3 separate regions of the Homo sapiens genome follow, and regions 2 and 3 are each linked to region 1. The links are contacts of gene promoters, found by promoter capture Hi-C in human tissues and cell types (Jung and others, 2019). All regions are on one chromosome and are shown on one strand. The core of a region is centred on a gene start or on the middle of the fragment in contact, and the rest is flanking DNA. Distances in the headings are between cores, read along the strand shown. Region 1 holds the start of FITM2 (fat storage inducing transmembrane protein 2). Region 2 has its middle 17 kb from the start of MYBL2. Region 3 overlaps YWHAB (tyrosine 3-monooxygenase/tryptophan 5-monooxygenase activation protein beta).

Region 1 (4,905 bases), core at 1,565-4,064:
CATTTTATAGACAAGAAATCTAAGGCTCAGAAAAGTTCAGTACCTTGCCAGGGTCACACTCACACAACCAGCATGAACAGATTAAACCACGGTTTGGATAGCCCCCAGACTCATGCTGTTTCTCCCATACCATATGTGGTTTTTTATTTTTTATTTTTATTTTTCTGAGACAGGATCTCACTCTGTCCCCCAGGCTTGCGTGCAGTGGCACAATCACACCTCACTGCAGCCTCAAACTCCTGGGCTCAAGCAATCCTCCTGCCTCAGCCTCACAAATAGCTGGGATTACAGGTGTGTACCAATGTGCCTGGCTAATTTTTTTTAATTATTATTTTTGTGGAGATGGGGCCTTGCTATGTTGCCCCCACTGGTCTTGAACTCCAGGCCTCAAGCAATTATCCTGCCTCAGCCTCCCAAAGTGCTGGGATTATAGATATGAGCCATGCACCTGGCCTGGTTCTTTCCTAATGGCAGAAACAGTCTTACAACAATGAGCTTTACTTTAAGCCAAAGACACGGGTTCAACTCTTGACTCTGACTTAACTTATTATACCTCCTACCTCTCCAGCCCTCAGTTTCTTCAGCTATTAAACAGAGCTGGGGGGACCAAATGATTTTTTTTTTTTTGAGACAGAGTTTTCACTCTTATTACCCAGGAGTGCAGTGGCACGATCTCGGCTCACTGCAACCTCCGCCTCCCGGGTTCAAGCAATTCTCCTGCCTCAGCCTCCGGAGTAGCTGGGATTACAGGCACCTACCACCACACTCGGCTAATTTTTGTATTTTTATTTTTATTTATTTATTTATTTTGAGACAAAGTCTCACTCTGCCATCCAGGCTGGAATGCAGTGGCATGATCTCAGCTCACTGCAACCTCCGCCTCCCAGGTTCAAGTGATTCTCTTGCCTCAGCCTCCTCAGTAGTTGGAATTACAGGCACGCACCACCACGCCAGGCTAATTTTTGTATTTTTAGTAGAGATGGGGTTTCACCACGTTGGCCAGGCTGGTCTTGAACTCCTGACCTCAAGTGATCCACCTGCCTTGGCCTCCCAAAGTGCCTGGATTACAGGTGTGAGCCACTGCGCCCAGCCTGGTTCTTTCCTAACGGCAGAAACAGTCTTGCAACAAGGTCTTACTTTAAGCCAAAAGACCGGGGTTCAAATCTTCACTCTTACGGGTTCAAATCTTCACTCTTACTTAACTTACTATACCTCCTACCTTTCCAGGCCTCAGTTTCTTCAGCTATCAAACAGAGCTGAGAGGACCAAATGATTTTTAAGGTCCCTTCTATATCCCAGGATTCACTAGTTCCCTCTCATTAATCAGCACAGAGGCTTGGAACAAAACTCCAGGATCCATGACTACCTTCAAACAACAGGGGTGTGTTGTCAGCCAGGCCACTTGGCTCCCAGCTCACCTAGGCCAGAGGAAGCAGCAGCTGCCTTGTCCGCCTCCCCAGCGTTCACGAAAGGTGGCTGACCTAAACCCAGGACAGAGACTTGGGGCCACTACCACTCTCATGATCTATTCTTAGCCCAGCCTCTCAGGGTGGGTGAGGAAGGAAGGTGGACCAAGGACAGAAGGACTTTTTTCTAGGTTCCAATGGATTCTCAGGCACCACCCCCAGGCCTGTCACTAAAATCTTCACTGGGACTGATAAGGAAGATCTTGCCAGAGCCAAGACCCGTCAGGCATTTGAGGAAGCTGCCTGTGAAAGGAACCAGGGTTTTAAGCAGATAACCAAAGTTGGGCTGACTTTCAGGACACGCCAGAGACACTTATTCTGGAAAACACTTAGGCTCACATCAAGGGAGCAGTTTTATCTTTCAGAGTTTCCCTTTATGACCGCAACAGAGTTTTTGTGCAATAAACTTACTAACCGGGAGTTTTGAAAAAAGCAAGTAAGCAAGCAAAGGAGTGGATGGGTGGAGTTAAGGAGATGTCTCAAAGCGCCCAGCTGGGATTGCTTTTCTGGGCCACTGCCATGCATTCTGAGTGGCTGAGATGATCCAAGGAGATCCAGGGGAAAGGGCACAGACTAGGGGGTTCCAGCCCTCTGTGAGTATCTCACAGGCGGGGGCTCTGCCTGTCACAGGCTGGGGCGAGGCTCTTCCACAGGTCGTAAAGGGATTCTGTCACGCGCTGGAGGGATCTGATCTGACGCAGGGTGGGGTCTGCGCGGGGTCTGCCACAGGCAGGCAGGACAGAGGTGAGATGGCATCTCCCAAACAGGGCAGGGGTCAGCTCCTAACTCCAAGGGGAGGCGGGGGAGTGGTGACAGGGGCTGGTTCATCCCCACCCCATTCCACACCCCTACATATACAGAGACACACACGACCCCGCTTGTCACCACCTGCCCAGTCAAGCTCATGCTGCCCAAAGTGGGTCTGCAAACACTAACTGCTAGTGACACCAGCTACCCCGGGGCCTCCCAGGCGTGACACGCGTGCAGATGCTGCTGTCACGGCTAGGAGGAGGACCTCCCCTCCAATGACTCGTCCACCACGGCAGCTAGCACCGGCTTCTCTGGGCGAGGCGACAGCGGGCCGGCTCGGGCGGGGACAGCGGAGGACCGGGGTGCACTCACACGTTGAGGACGTTGCGCTTGTTGCTGAGGTAGCTCTCGGGCAACGGGGACAACTCCTTGAGGAGGGAGCCCGCCAGCATGGAGGCCACCAGGGCCCAGGGCAGGTAGCGCCGCACGGCCGCCCGCACCAGCGTCCCCCGCAACAACCACTCGCAGCGCTCCAGATGCTCCATGCCGGATCTCGTCAGCCACCGTCCTCCTCTCCGTGCCCTCTCGGCCACCGTATCGCCCTTCGCCCGGACCTGCGCCTCCACCTCCCTTCGAGCGCATGCGCACTGCCCGCGAGTCCCACAGCTTGAGGCGTGCTTGGGCTCCGGAGCCCGCGCGCTCCCCCTCGTGGCCGCTGCTGCCTCTGGCGCGTGACGGTCCCCGAACTCGCTCGTCTCCTCTGCGCTCTCCTGGCCGCCTCCTCTCCCCGAGCCTCCGCGTCTTGCTCTGGTCTGGGAAAAAGCGCTTGTGAAAGTATTTGCTGGAGGCTGGAAGAGGATAAATGTAGCCCTGGAGAATTGGAGCAGTAGTCACAGCATCATTTGATCTTTCTTGGAGCCTCGGAGACACCTCTGCCATCTGAGTCTTAGTTTTCTCATCTGTAAAATGCGAGAGACAAGAGGAGATCAACCTTTCCCAAAAGCTAGTTTATGAGCTCAGGGGTTCATTACGTTGGCACACGTAGAGGGACATGAGATGAAGTTTCCTTAGGAATAATTATTGTATTTATTTATTTATTAGTTAGTTGGGGGGGGGTCCCTCTCTGTCGCCCAGGCTGGAGTGCAATGGCACCGTCGCAGCTCACCGCAACCTCAAATTTCTGGTCTCAAGCAATACTCCCACCTCAGCCTCCCGAGTAGCTGGGACCACAGGCGGGCACCACCACACCTGGCTAATTTTTTTTATTTTTATTTCTGTAGAGACAGGGTTTTGCTTCGTTGTCGAGGCTGGTCTCAAACTCCTGGGCTCAAGCGATCCTCCTGCCTCGGCTTCCTAAAATGCTGCAATTACAAGTGTGAGCCACCACGCTCTGCAGTTATTAAATTAATTAATTAATATAATTAATTTATTTAGAGACATAGTCTCGCTCTGTTGCCCAGGCTGGAATGCAGTGGCGCGATCTCAGCTCACTGCAGGCCTCTGCCTCCCAGGTTCAAGCGATTCTCCTGCCTCAGCCTCCCGAGTAGCTGGGATTACAGGCACGCACCACCACACCCAGCTAATTTTTGTATTTTTAGTAGAGATGGGGTTTCACCATGTCGGCCAGGCTGACCAACTCCTGTCCTCAAGTGATCTGACCTCTCCAAATCTTAACCTCAAGTGATCTGCCAGCCTTCACCTCCCAAAGTGCTGAGATTACAGGAGTGAGCCATCTCACCTGGTGCAATTATTACATTTAAAGTTTAAATTTCTAAATTTATTTTCACCTGGGCAACACAGTGAGACTCAGTATCTATAAGAAATAATTTTAAAAACTAGCTGACTTGGTGGCTCAGGCCTGTGGTCCCAGCTACTCAGGAGGCTGAGGTGGGAGGATTGCTTGAGCCCAGGAATTTGAGGTTGCAGTGAGCTGTGATGGTCCCATTGCACTCCAGCCTGGGCCACGGAGCGAGACCGTCTTAAAAAGCACACAAAGAAACACAAAACAGCTATCTATGCCTGTTGGATGAAAATGCTGGATGCTGGGGGTTAATGGGGAGATCACATGAAGTTGTTGGAGACTCAGTTGCTCAGTTTATCACAAAACTAACCCCTCACCCCTGGTTAGGGCTGGGTGTCTATTTCAGTTCCCAACCTTGGACTCATTCCCTTACCCCAATGTTAGTTTCCTGTGGCAGCTCTAATAAATTACTATAAACTCAGTTTATTTTTATTCCTTTTTTTTTCTTTAGTTTTAAATAGAGATGGGGTCTCACTATGTTGCCCAGGTTGATCTCGAACGCCTGGGCTCCAGTGATCCTCCTGCCTCGGCCTCCCAAAGTGCTAGGATTACAGGTGCGAGCCACCGTGCCCAACCCTAAACTTGTTTTAAACAACAGAAGTTTATTCCAAAAGCCACAAACCCAGCCAATACACACATATATAGTCATATCAAGAGATGGGCATTTTAGGCCAGACGTGGTGGCTCACGCCTGTAATCCCAGCACTTTGGGAGGCCAAGCTATTTTGATCTTGGCTCACTGTAACCTCTGCCTCCCGGGTTCAAGGTAGTCTCCTGCCTCACCCTCCCAAGCAGCTGGGACTACAGGCACATGCCACCACACCTGGCTAATTTTTTTGTATTTTTAGACAGGGTTTCGCCATGTTGACCAGGCTGGTCTCCAACTCC
Region 2 (4,905 bases), core at 879-3,378, 660 kb before region 1:
AGATACCTTCCTTATATAGATCTCATCCCTTCATCTCCCAGTTGCCCATAGGACACAACCATGTAGAGCAAGCTTGTCCAACCCGCAGCCCATGGGCTGCATGTGGCTTAGGACGGCTTTGAATGTGGCCTAAAACAAATTTGTAAACTTTTTTTTTTTTTTTGGAGACGGAGTCTCGCTCTGTCACCCACGCTGGAGTGCAGTGGCGCGATCTCGGCTCACTGCAAGCTCTGCCTCCTGGGTTCACACCATTCTCCTGCCTCAGCCTCTCCGAGTAGCTGGGACTACAGGCGCCCGCCACCACGCCCGGCTAATTTTTAGTATTTTTAGTAGAGATGGGGTTTCACCGTGGTCTCGATCTCCTGACCTCATGATCCGCCCGCCTCAGCCTCCCAAAGTGCTGGGATTACAAGCGTGAGCCACCGCGCCCGGCCTACAAATTTGTAAACTCTTAAAACATTATGAGGCCAGGTGCAGTGGCTCATGCTTGTAATCCCAACACTTTGGGAGGCCAAGGTGGGTGGATCACCTGAGGCCAGGAGATAGAGACCAACCTGGCCAACAGGATGAAACCCTGTCCCTACAAAAAATACAAAAATTAGCCAGGTGTAGAGGCCTGGTACGGTGGCTCATGCCTGTAATCCCAGTTCTTTGGGAGGCCGAGGTGGATGGATCACTTGAAGTCAGGAGTTCAAGACAAGCCTGGCCAACATGGCGAAAACCTGTCTCTCCTAAAAATACAAAAATTACCCGGGTGTGGTGGTGCAGGCCTATAATCCCAGCTTCTCAGGAGGCTGGGGCAGGACAGTCGCTTGAACCCCAGAGGCAGAGGTTGTGGTGAGCTGAGGTTGTACCACTGCACTCCAGCCTGGGCAACAGAGCAAGACTGTCTCAAAAAAAAAAAAAAAATTAGCCAGACATGGTCAGGCATAGTGGCTCATAGCTGTAGTCCCAGCTACTTGGGAGGCTGAGGTGGGGAAAATCATTGAACCTGGGAGGCAGAAGTTGCAGTGAGCCAAGATCACATAACTGCACTCCAGCCTGGGTGACAGAGCAAGACTGTCAAAAAAAAAAAAAAAAATTAAGAGATAGATGTGTTTATTATTATTTTTATTTTTATTTTTTTTATTTTTTTTAAGAAGGAGTCTCGCCCTTTTGCCCAGGCTGGAGTGCAGTGGCGCTATCTTGGCTCACTGCAAACTCCACCTCCCAGGTTCATGCCATTCTCCTGCCTCAGCCTCCCAAGTAGCTGGGACTACAGGCACCCACCACCATGCCTGGCTAATTTTTTGTATTTTTAATAGAGACGAGGTTTCACTGTGTTAGGCAGGATGGTCTCGATCTCCTGACCTCATGATCCACCAGCCTCGGCCTCCCAAAGTGCTGGGATTACAGGTGTGAGCCACTGCACCCGGCCATTATTATTATTTTTTTAGCTCATCAGCCATTGTTAGTGTATTTTGTGTGACCCAAGACAATTCTTCCAATGTTGCCCAGGGAAGCCAAAAGATTAGATACTCCTGATTTAGAAGCTGAGCCTGGGGAACAAAAGTGAAAGTCCATCTCTACAAAAATGAAAATTAGCCAGGTATAGTGGCACACACCTGTAGTCCCAGGTATTTGGGAGACTGAGGTGGCAGGATTGCTTGAGCCCAGGAGTTCAAAGCTGCACTAGCTATGATCATACCACTGCACTCCAGAATGGGCCACCCATGCTTCTTCCCTGTCCTCTGGCTTCCTGAAGCACTCAGTTCTATCATCATCTTGGGTTATAATGTAGGGCCAAATTTAATCATCTGTTCCAAGGAGGCTAGAGGGTATTGTCATGGGACAATGGGAGAGACTGCACCTGTCAGAATGGTGCAGTTGGTGTATAGAAATGCACAGCAGTGTACTGACATACACAGATAACCAGCTTTGGGGAACTCTGAAAGCCAGATGGAAGGTTGCAGAGCCACTGAGGATAGGAGAGGAGAGAAGGGAGAGGAGAGGAGAGGAGGGGAGGGGAGGGGAGGTGGGAGGAAAGGGGGGAGGGGGGAGGGGAGGAGCAATTCCCATTGCTGCACAATGGGAATAGTTTAGCTGGTGGGTTCTATAAAGATGGGAATGGTAGAAGGATGGTCATTTACAGAAGAGTTTGATACAACCCCAAGAGCAAATAATAAGGATGTGGACTAAGGTGGTATTATAGGAAAGGTGGCATTTTGAAACACTTTGGTCTGGGTGTTGAAAGTTAGATTGGCAAGATTTGGGGCTTGATTTCCTGGGACAGTGGGGGCAGCTATTAAAAGATGGGGAGTCTAGGCCAGGCACGGTGGCTCATGCCTGTAATCCCAGCAATTTGGGAGGCCGAGACGGGCAGATCACCTGAGATCAAGAGTTCTAGACCAGCCTGGCCAACATGGTGAAACCCCGTCTCTACTAAAAATACAAAAATTAGCCTGGCGTGGCGGGCGCCTGTAATCCCAGCTACTCAGGAGACTGAGGTGGGAAAATTGCTTGAACCCGGGAAGTGGAGGTAGCAGTGAGTCGAGATCATGCCATTGCACTCCAGCCTGGGTAACGAGGGAAACTCTATTAAAAAAAAAAAGATGGGGAGTCTGAAGGATGAGTGGTTTTGGAGCATAAGAGTCCAGTTGAGACTATGGCAATTAATACAGGTGGAAATAACTAGTAAATGGCTGGAAATCCCTAATTTAGGCTTAGAAAAGATGTCCAGTCTCAAGAGTGGAGTTGTTCATATGGAGTGGTTAATTAAAGTCATGAGAATCATTTGTCAAAGAGTAGTGTTAGAAATTTAAAAGCTTGGGAAGAACAGCTCAAGTCAAATCCTGAGTTTCAAATGATTTCTTCATGGTAAAGCTCTGTTCATAGGCTTCCATTCTCTCCCATACTCAAGCCCTAGTACACGGCTTATTCAGAGTTGCCAGCCAGGGCAGGGCACTGGGGAACGGGGAAGCCACTCCAGGGGCAGAAGAATTTGGGGGCTCTAGCTCAAAGCTGGGAGATAAGCAGCTAGAGGACAGGCCTGGGGAGTGCTGTGGCAGTGTGTTCCAAATACATACCCAAAATGTGTTCAATGATTGTCTCCCAACCCAAATGCTCTTCTCTTATCCTGTGGGCTTGATGCTCCTCCCATTGAGAGGTGGGGTCTCTGTTCCCTCCTCTGAATCTTTGAATCTGGCACCGTGGCAGAAGTGATGCTGGTGACCTCTGAGGCTAGTTCATAAAAGGCTATACAGCTTCTGCCTGGTTATCTTGGGACATTCACCTTTAGAACACAAGCCTCCATGTAAGAAGTCCAAGGCCACGTGGATAGGCCATGTATAGGTGTTCTGGCCAACAGCCAGAGATCTCAGTCTATACCAGCATCTTGGTATAAATCGCTTGCCAAACATGAATGATGATACCTCCAAATGACTCCTGGCCCCAACCATCAAGCACCTCAGCCTTTTGTCATCCCAATTGAGGTCCCAGATGTCATAGAGCAGAGACAAGCCATCCCTGCTGTGTTCTTTGTGAATTCCTGACTCCCAGAATCCATGAATATAATAAAATGGGAAGGAAGGTGTGCCCTCACTGCCATTTTGTTATATTTGTTTTTATTTTTATTTTTGTTTTTTTGTTTTGTTTTGTTTTTTGAGACAGGGTCTCATTCTGTCTCCCAGGCTGGAGTGCAGTGACACAATCTCAGCTCACTGCACCCTCTGCCTCCCAGGTTCAAGTGATTCTCCTGCCTCAGCCTCCCCAATAGCTGGGATTACAGGCACGTGCCAACACGCCTGGCTAATTTTTTGTATTTTTAGTAGAGACAAGGTTTCACCATGTTGACCAGGCTGGTCTCAAACTCCTGACCTCAAGTGATCCACCCGCCTCGGCCTCCCAAAGCGCTGTGATTACAGGCGTGAGCCACTGCGCCCAGCCTTGTTTTTGATTTTTTTGAGACAGGGTCTTGCTCTGTTGCCCAGGCTGAAGTGCACTGGTGTGATCATAGCTCACTGTAACCTCAACCTCCTGGGCTCAAGCAATCCTCCTGCTTCAGCTTTCCGAGTAACTGGGACTACAGGTGTATGCTACCATACCCAGCTAATTTTAAAAAATGTATTTTAAAATACATTGAGTGGCTGGGCGCAGTGGCTCATGCCCGTAATCCCAGCACTGTGGGAGGCTGAGGGGGGCAGATCACGAGGTCAGGAAATCGAGACCATCCTGGCTAACACGGTGAAACCCCATCTCTACTAAAAAATACAAAAAAATTAGCCGGGCATGGTGGCAGGCGCCTGTAGTCCCAGCTACTTGGGAGGCTGAGGCAGGAGAATGGCGTGAACCCAGGAGGCGGAGCTTGCAGTGAGCGGAGATCGGGCCACTGCACTCCAGCCTGGGCGACAGAGTGAGACTCGTCTCAAAGAAAAGAAAAAAAAAAAAAAAATATATATATATATATATATATATAGAGAGAGAGAGAGAGAGAGAGAGAGAGTCTTTCGTCTGAGCCGCCAAAATGCCATCCAGACTGAGGAAGACCCAGAAACTTCGGGGCCATGTGAGCCATGGCCATGGCCGCATAGGCAAGCTCCAAAAGCACCCCAGAGGCCACAGTAATGCTGGTGGAATGCATCACCACAGGATCAACTTCAACAAATACTACCCAGGTTACTTTGGGAAAGTTGGTATGAGGTATTACTTAAAGAGAAACCAGAGTGGCCGGGCGCGGTGGCTCACACCTGTAATCCCAGCACTTTGGGAGGCCGAGGCGGGTGGATCATGAGGTCAGGAGATCGAGACCATCCTGGCCAACAAGGTGAAACCCCGTCTCTACTAAAAATACAAAAAATTAGCCGGGCACGGTGGCGGGCGCCTGTAGTCCCAGCTACTCGGGAGGCTGAGGCAGGAGAATGGCGTGAA
Region 3 (4,905 bases), core at 640-3,139, 580 kb after region 1:
TTTCCTTGTAGAGATACTTTTAAGTTCCTTGTTTCTACATTTTTCTAGGGAAAGATGACAATTCACTAGTTAAGGGGCAAGAAATTATGGTTACATAATAGCAACCTTTAAGCTTTAGAATCCTTTTGATCTCTATGTGAATATGATCTTAGCAGTCATCTGTATTGCATGATGGAGAAACTAACGGTTGGAGCTGGATTCTGAGGGAATTTTTCTAAGGGGAATACTTGAGGAAACAGACTAAAAGTGCTTTCTGTCTCATGATATGTGTGCTGAAGGCCAATCATCTTACTGCTTTCTCAACTAAAAGATTTTCTAATAGAGGTGTGGTTATATGTATCTGATACTTGTAATGAGATGTAAATGATCAGTGGCCTCAAGTCATTCCTAGCAGATTGTAGGTTAGTTAACTTTTTTTTTTTTTTTAAATTCTGGCCAGTTCTTTATTATGTAAGTTTTTCCCGTACTGGTTAGTTTATTTTATTGTTTTCCCTAAAAGAACCAACAGGAGGTTATTTCTGAATGGCCTTGACCAGGACAAGAAGATTGAAGGCTACAATAAAGTAGATATGAGTCCTGTCTATTATTATTATTTGCCCTCAGCTAAGAGCTTTCCTTTAAAATTTGTTTGACATTTTGGTAAGTCTTTGGCATGTTTTTATGCTGTTTTTAACTCCTTGATTTTGTTTTTATTTTTAAAGCTAGATAACATTAGCTTAATAGGCCAGTTTTAAAATTTCACTGTAACAACCTTGTATAGTTCTTTTAAAAGTTGACAATTCTCTCTTTTCCTTAAGTGAGCATTGGAGTTCATAATTGATCTTTAGGAGATAGGGTTACATAAAGGAAAGAGCATTAATTTTAAAATTAATGTTGGTTTAGATCCCAGATCTGCCATATATAGCTGTGTGACCCTGAATGAGTTAACTCTTTGCATTTATAAAACGGGACAATGTCACCTGCCTCATAGGATACTTAGGATCAAATGCGTTTCTAGGAATCCCTGAGTGCTTTGCAGGCCATAAATGATGGATGGATATTTTTGTTATTTACTAAACGAGTTAGCTGGTTTGGGTTTCTGTATAGTGAACTTTTTGTATAGCGAACTGATTGGACTTCTGAATGGAGGAGATGGACAGAAAGTAATCCAAAGGCTTGTTGAAAGTCAGTTTGAATCTATAAATACAATGATTGGTAGCTGAAAAATATTAGTCAAAATGTATAGTGTTGCTCCTGATGAGAGCTGGCTGGCTTTTTTCAAAAAGTAGTCTAAGACAATAAAAACAGTCTGTATTTTATAGGTCAGATGTGTGCTACCTTCCTCTGTCCACGTAGGAAATAATTGCTTTTTCACTTTTTAAGAATGCATCAGTTGATCAAGCAGTCACTCAGTGTGCTAGGCCTTGTACTCCACATTGGGTGTCCAAAGATACAAGTCTGGATTCCTACTTTTTTTTTTTTTTTTTTTTTTTTTTGTGAGATGGAGTCTCACTCTGTCACCCAGGCTGGAGTGCAGTGGCACGATCTTGGCTCACTGCAACCTCTGAAGCCCGGGTTCAAGCAATTCTCCTGCCTCAGCCTCCTGAGTAGCTGGGATTACAGGCGCCTGCCACTGCGCCCAGCTAATTTTTGTATTTTTAGTAGAGACAGGGTTTCGCCATCTTGGCCAGGCTGGTCTTGAACTCCTGACCTTGCGATCCACCTGCCTCGGCCTCCCAAAGTGCTGGGATTACAGGCGTGAGCCACCACGCCTGGCTGGATTCCTACTTTAAGCTCACAATCCGGTGTGGGAGCCAGCAGAGACACTTGCATTGCAGTAAACTGTGATAAGGGCCATTTTAGAAATAAGCATAGGGAAATTGTTATGTGCCTTTCTTTTAAAAGTCTTTAAAGAAAGCAGAGTACGTGTAAAATAAATGAGGTACATAGTAAGTTTCCCTTCACTGGCTGACCATTGGTTTTTTAAGTTTTGTGTGGAATGTACTGTGGTTGCCATTTATTTGAGTGCTTACTGTTTTATATCATAAACAGGTTTACTCCTTACAGGAACCCTAGTAAGTAGATTTGCCTATGTTTTTTTTTTTCTTCACAGAGTCTTGCTCTGTCGCCTAGGCTGGAGTGCAGTGGCGTGATCTCAGCTCACTGCAGCCTCTGCCTTCAGGCTGCCTCAGCCTCCCAATTAGCTGGGATTACAGGCGCCTGCCACTATACCCGGCTAATTTTTTTATATATTTAGTAGAGACGGGGTTTCACCATGTTGGCCAGGCTGGTCTTGAACTCCTGACCTCAAGTGATCACCCTCCTCGGCCTCCCAGAGTGCTGGGATTACAGGCGTGAGCCACCACGCCCAGCCCAGATTTGCCTGTATTATGGATGAGAAAACAAATTCACAGAGGTCACATAGCCTGTGGACTTGGTGTGCGGTACTGGTAAATCAGACTGATAGGCTTCATTATGTCAGTGGGCCCCAAACTGTAGAAATTATTCATAAGGTCAACCAATTGGGCTGTCTTTATGGATCAGAATTAACATAGTGTCTTTTGGATTGATTACTTAAGCCAAGAAGTCAATTTATTGTCATATCTACCATTAAGTCACATGTGTAACCTTGCGCCTGTCACTTAACACCCTCAGTAAGTTTAATCATGGCTAATTGGACATAATTAGCAATGATATGCAACAGCTGATGTGAAAGAGGGAAGGGATTTTGAAATAATAGAAATGCAGTTTCTCTCCAAATTCAGTGTTCACTGGACTTAGTGCTAATGACTTTGTATTACAGATATGCTGTGTTTTGTTTCCTAACAAAGAACCTGCAAATGTTTGAATGGAATTAAATTTATTACAGGACTCTAAATTTTATATGTAGAATGGCACACAGACAGTTTTATAGTGGGTGTTTTTTAGTGAGTAGTTTTCTCTGAGAGCCAGGAGTGTTTAACTTTTTCTGGGTAACACCCACTAACCACCTGGTCCCACTGACTTTCTCAGTCCCTTCTGCAGTAGCTTGGCATCTGATTTTTCTTCAGCAGAGAGACTCCAGAACTAAAACTTCTGCTGTACAGTGCTGTGGATGCTCTATCTGGAATGGTACATCTGTGAATGCTGTTCAGAATATGTGATCAGTTCCTTACCCCATTGAAACATTCGAGCCTAGATTTTTCAGATTTTCTTGTCAGTTTTCTTCCTTATTCTCATTTCTTTATCTGCTTTGGCCTTTGATTTTTATCTCATCTAGAAAAACATACATGCACTTTATTAATAACATCTCTTTTTAAGTCACGACCTAGCTACCTTTAAACCTATTTCCTCTAGTTCTGTCTGGTTGGCTTTCTAAGGAGAGGCATTGTAACCCTTAAACGTGTGCTGTTTTTTTTTTTAATTGATGTGTAATAGATATACATGTGCTCTTTTCTTGTGTTTCTACCACTAGAGTTTAAGCTCTCTGAGGGGAGGACTACACTGCTTTCTTTTAAATTCCTCTCAATGAATAATCCAAAGAGTTCTTAGAAATTTGGTAGTTTTTCATTTTGTTAGTTATTTCAACACACATTGGATTATATGTGTTACATTTTTGTGAGGTAGCTTAAGAATAAAAAATAAGAATGGCTTATGAGCCTTTACTCTAACCAGCACTATATGGGCATTTTATGTTCATTATCTTATTTGATAGCTATTAATGTCTCTTTTTAACACTGAGAAAACAGATTCAGGTAAGTTATAATGTGGAAATGTAGAAAAATCACCTACTTTCTCTTTAGAAGCTCAGATGTGTATGTAAGGCTTGCTAAAAGCAGACCCCACCGTATATTTTATATGTATAGAGCTTGGGTAATTCCTGACATATAATAATGGAGTCTTCATCTGAAATTTCTAACAAATTATTAAATTCAAAGCTTATTATTTTCGAATCGAGCATGTTCTTTGCCTTGAAAACAAAACATAGCTGAAAGCCAGTGCTTCTAAAGGCCACAGCTGTCATTTTCAACCCTTTCTGTCTTTGCACTGCCTTTATTTAAAAAAAAATGGATTAGCAGTAGGTAGTCTTCTTTTTCTTTTCTTTCTTTCTTTTTTGATTCTTCTCCTAGGATATCTGCTCTAGCCACTGGGAAATAACTTCTCAGTATTTTGACCCTGACTAGAAAGATGTCCCTTGGGGAAGGAATTGGGATAGAGGGGCTAGGCTGTTTCCTAGATCCTCTATTTTCAGCATTTATTATCTGATTTAGGATTTTGTTTCTTTGAAGAAAATCCTATTTTGTGAGTACCTTTAGAATTATTTTTCATAGCTGTTTATCTGCACTAGTGGTTTCTCTTTAAACAGAAAAACACTTTTTTTCTTAAAAAAAGAAATAGTACCCAATTTTTAAAAAAGTAATACATACTTGAAGAAAATTTAAAAAGATAGGAAAATGAGGATATAATAATGTTATTACCCAGAGACAGAACCAGTGTTAACCATTTGGTGTAACCTTTCTGTTCGGGTTTGTTTGTTCTTTAGGGGATATTTTACAGAAATAAAATATTGTGCAGCCTCGTCCCTCCAGCCCCCATTGCTCTTAAATAAATCTTTTCATGACATTAAATCTCTTCTTTTGATGGCCACGTAATCTTGTACCATCTATCTCCTTCCCTCCCCTGCCTTTTTTTTTTTTTTTTTTTTTGAGACGGAGTTTCGCTCTTGTCGCCCAGGCTGGAGTGTAGTGGCGCAGTTTCGGCTCACTGCAACCTCCACCTCCTGGGTTCAAGTGATTATCCTGCCTCAGCCTCCCGAGTAGCTGGGATTACAGTCATACACCACCCCGGCTAATTTTTTTGTATTTTTAGTAGAAACGGGGTTTCACCACATTGGCCACGCTGGTCTCGAACTCCTGACTTCAGGTGATCTGCCTGCCTTGGCCTCCC

The links. The method cuts DNA at HindIII sites, captures the fragments that hold promoters and counts their contacts. A contact is called where the count stands out against the background at its distance.
Region 2: a contact is called between a fragment that was not itself captured here and the fragment with the promoter of FITM2 in region 1, in 1 of the 25 tissues and cell types used here (dorsolateral prefrontal cortex).
Region 3: a fragment that was not itself captured here is called in contact with the fragment with the promoter of FITM2 in region 1 in 1 of the 25 tissues and cell types used here (hippocampus).

Annotation. Positions count from the first base shown.
Region 1 is chr20:44,308,388-44,313,292 of GRCh38, forward strand. FITM2 (fat storage inducing transmembrane protein 2) reads right to left here and starts at 2,815. Exons shown (of 2, transcript NM_001080472.4): 1 at 2,589-2,815. The coding sequence starts at 2,761. RefSeq lists enhancers at 1,662-2,391, 2,338-2,427, 2,392-3,121, 2,718-2,867. The HindIII fragment of the contact is 18,619 bases long and covers 1-4,905 here.
Region 2 is chr20:43,648,022-43,652,926 of GRCh38, forward strand. It overlaps the pseudogene RPL27AP. Among named protein-coding and RNA genes, the nearest start is that of MYBL2, 17 kb to the right of the region's middle. The HindIII fragment of the contact is 6,998 bases long and covers 1-4,905 here.
Region 3 is chr20:44,889,052-44,893,956 of GRCh38, forward strand. All of the region lies in intron 1 of YWHAB (tyrosine 3-monooxygenase/tryptophan 5-monooxygenase activation protein beta), which reads left to right. Among named protein-coding and RNA genes, the nearest start is that of YWHAB, 5.8 kb to the left of the region's middle. The HindIII fragment of the contact is 5,673 bases long and covers 1-4,726 here.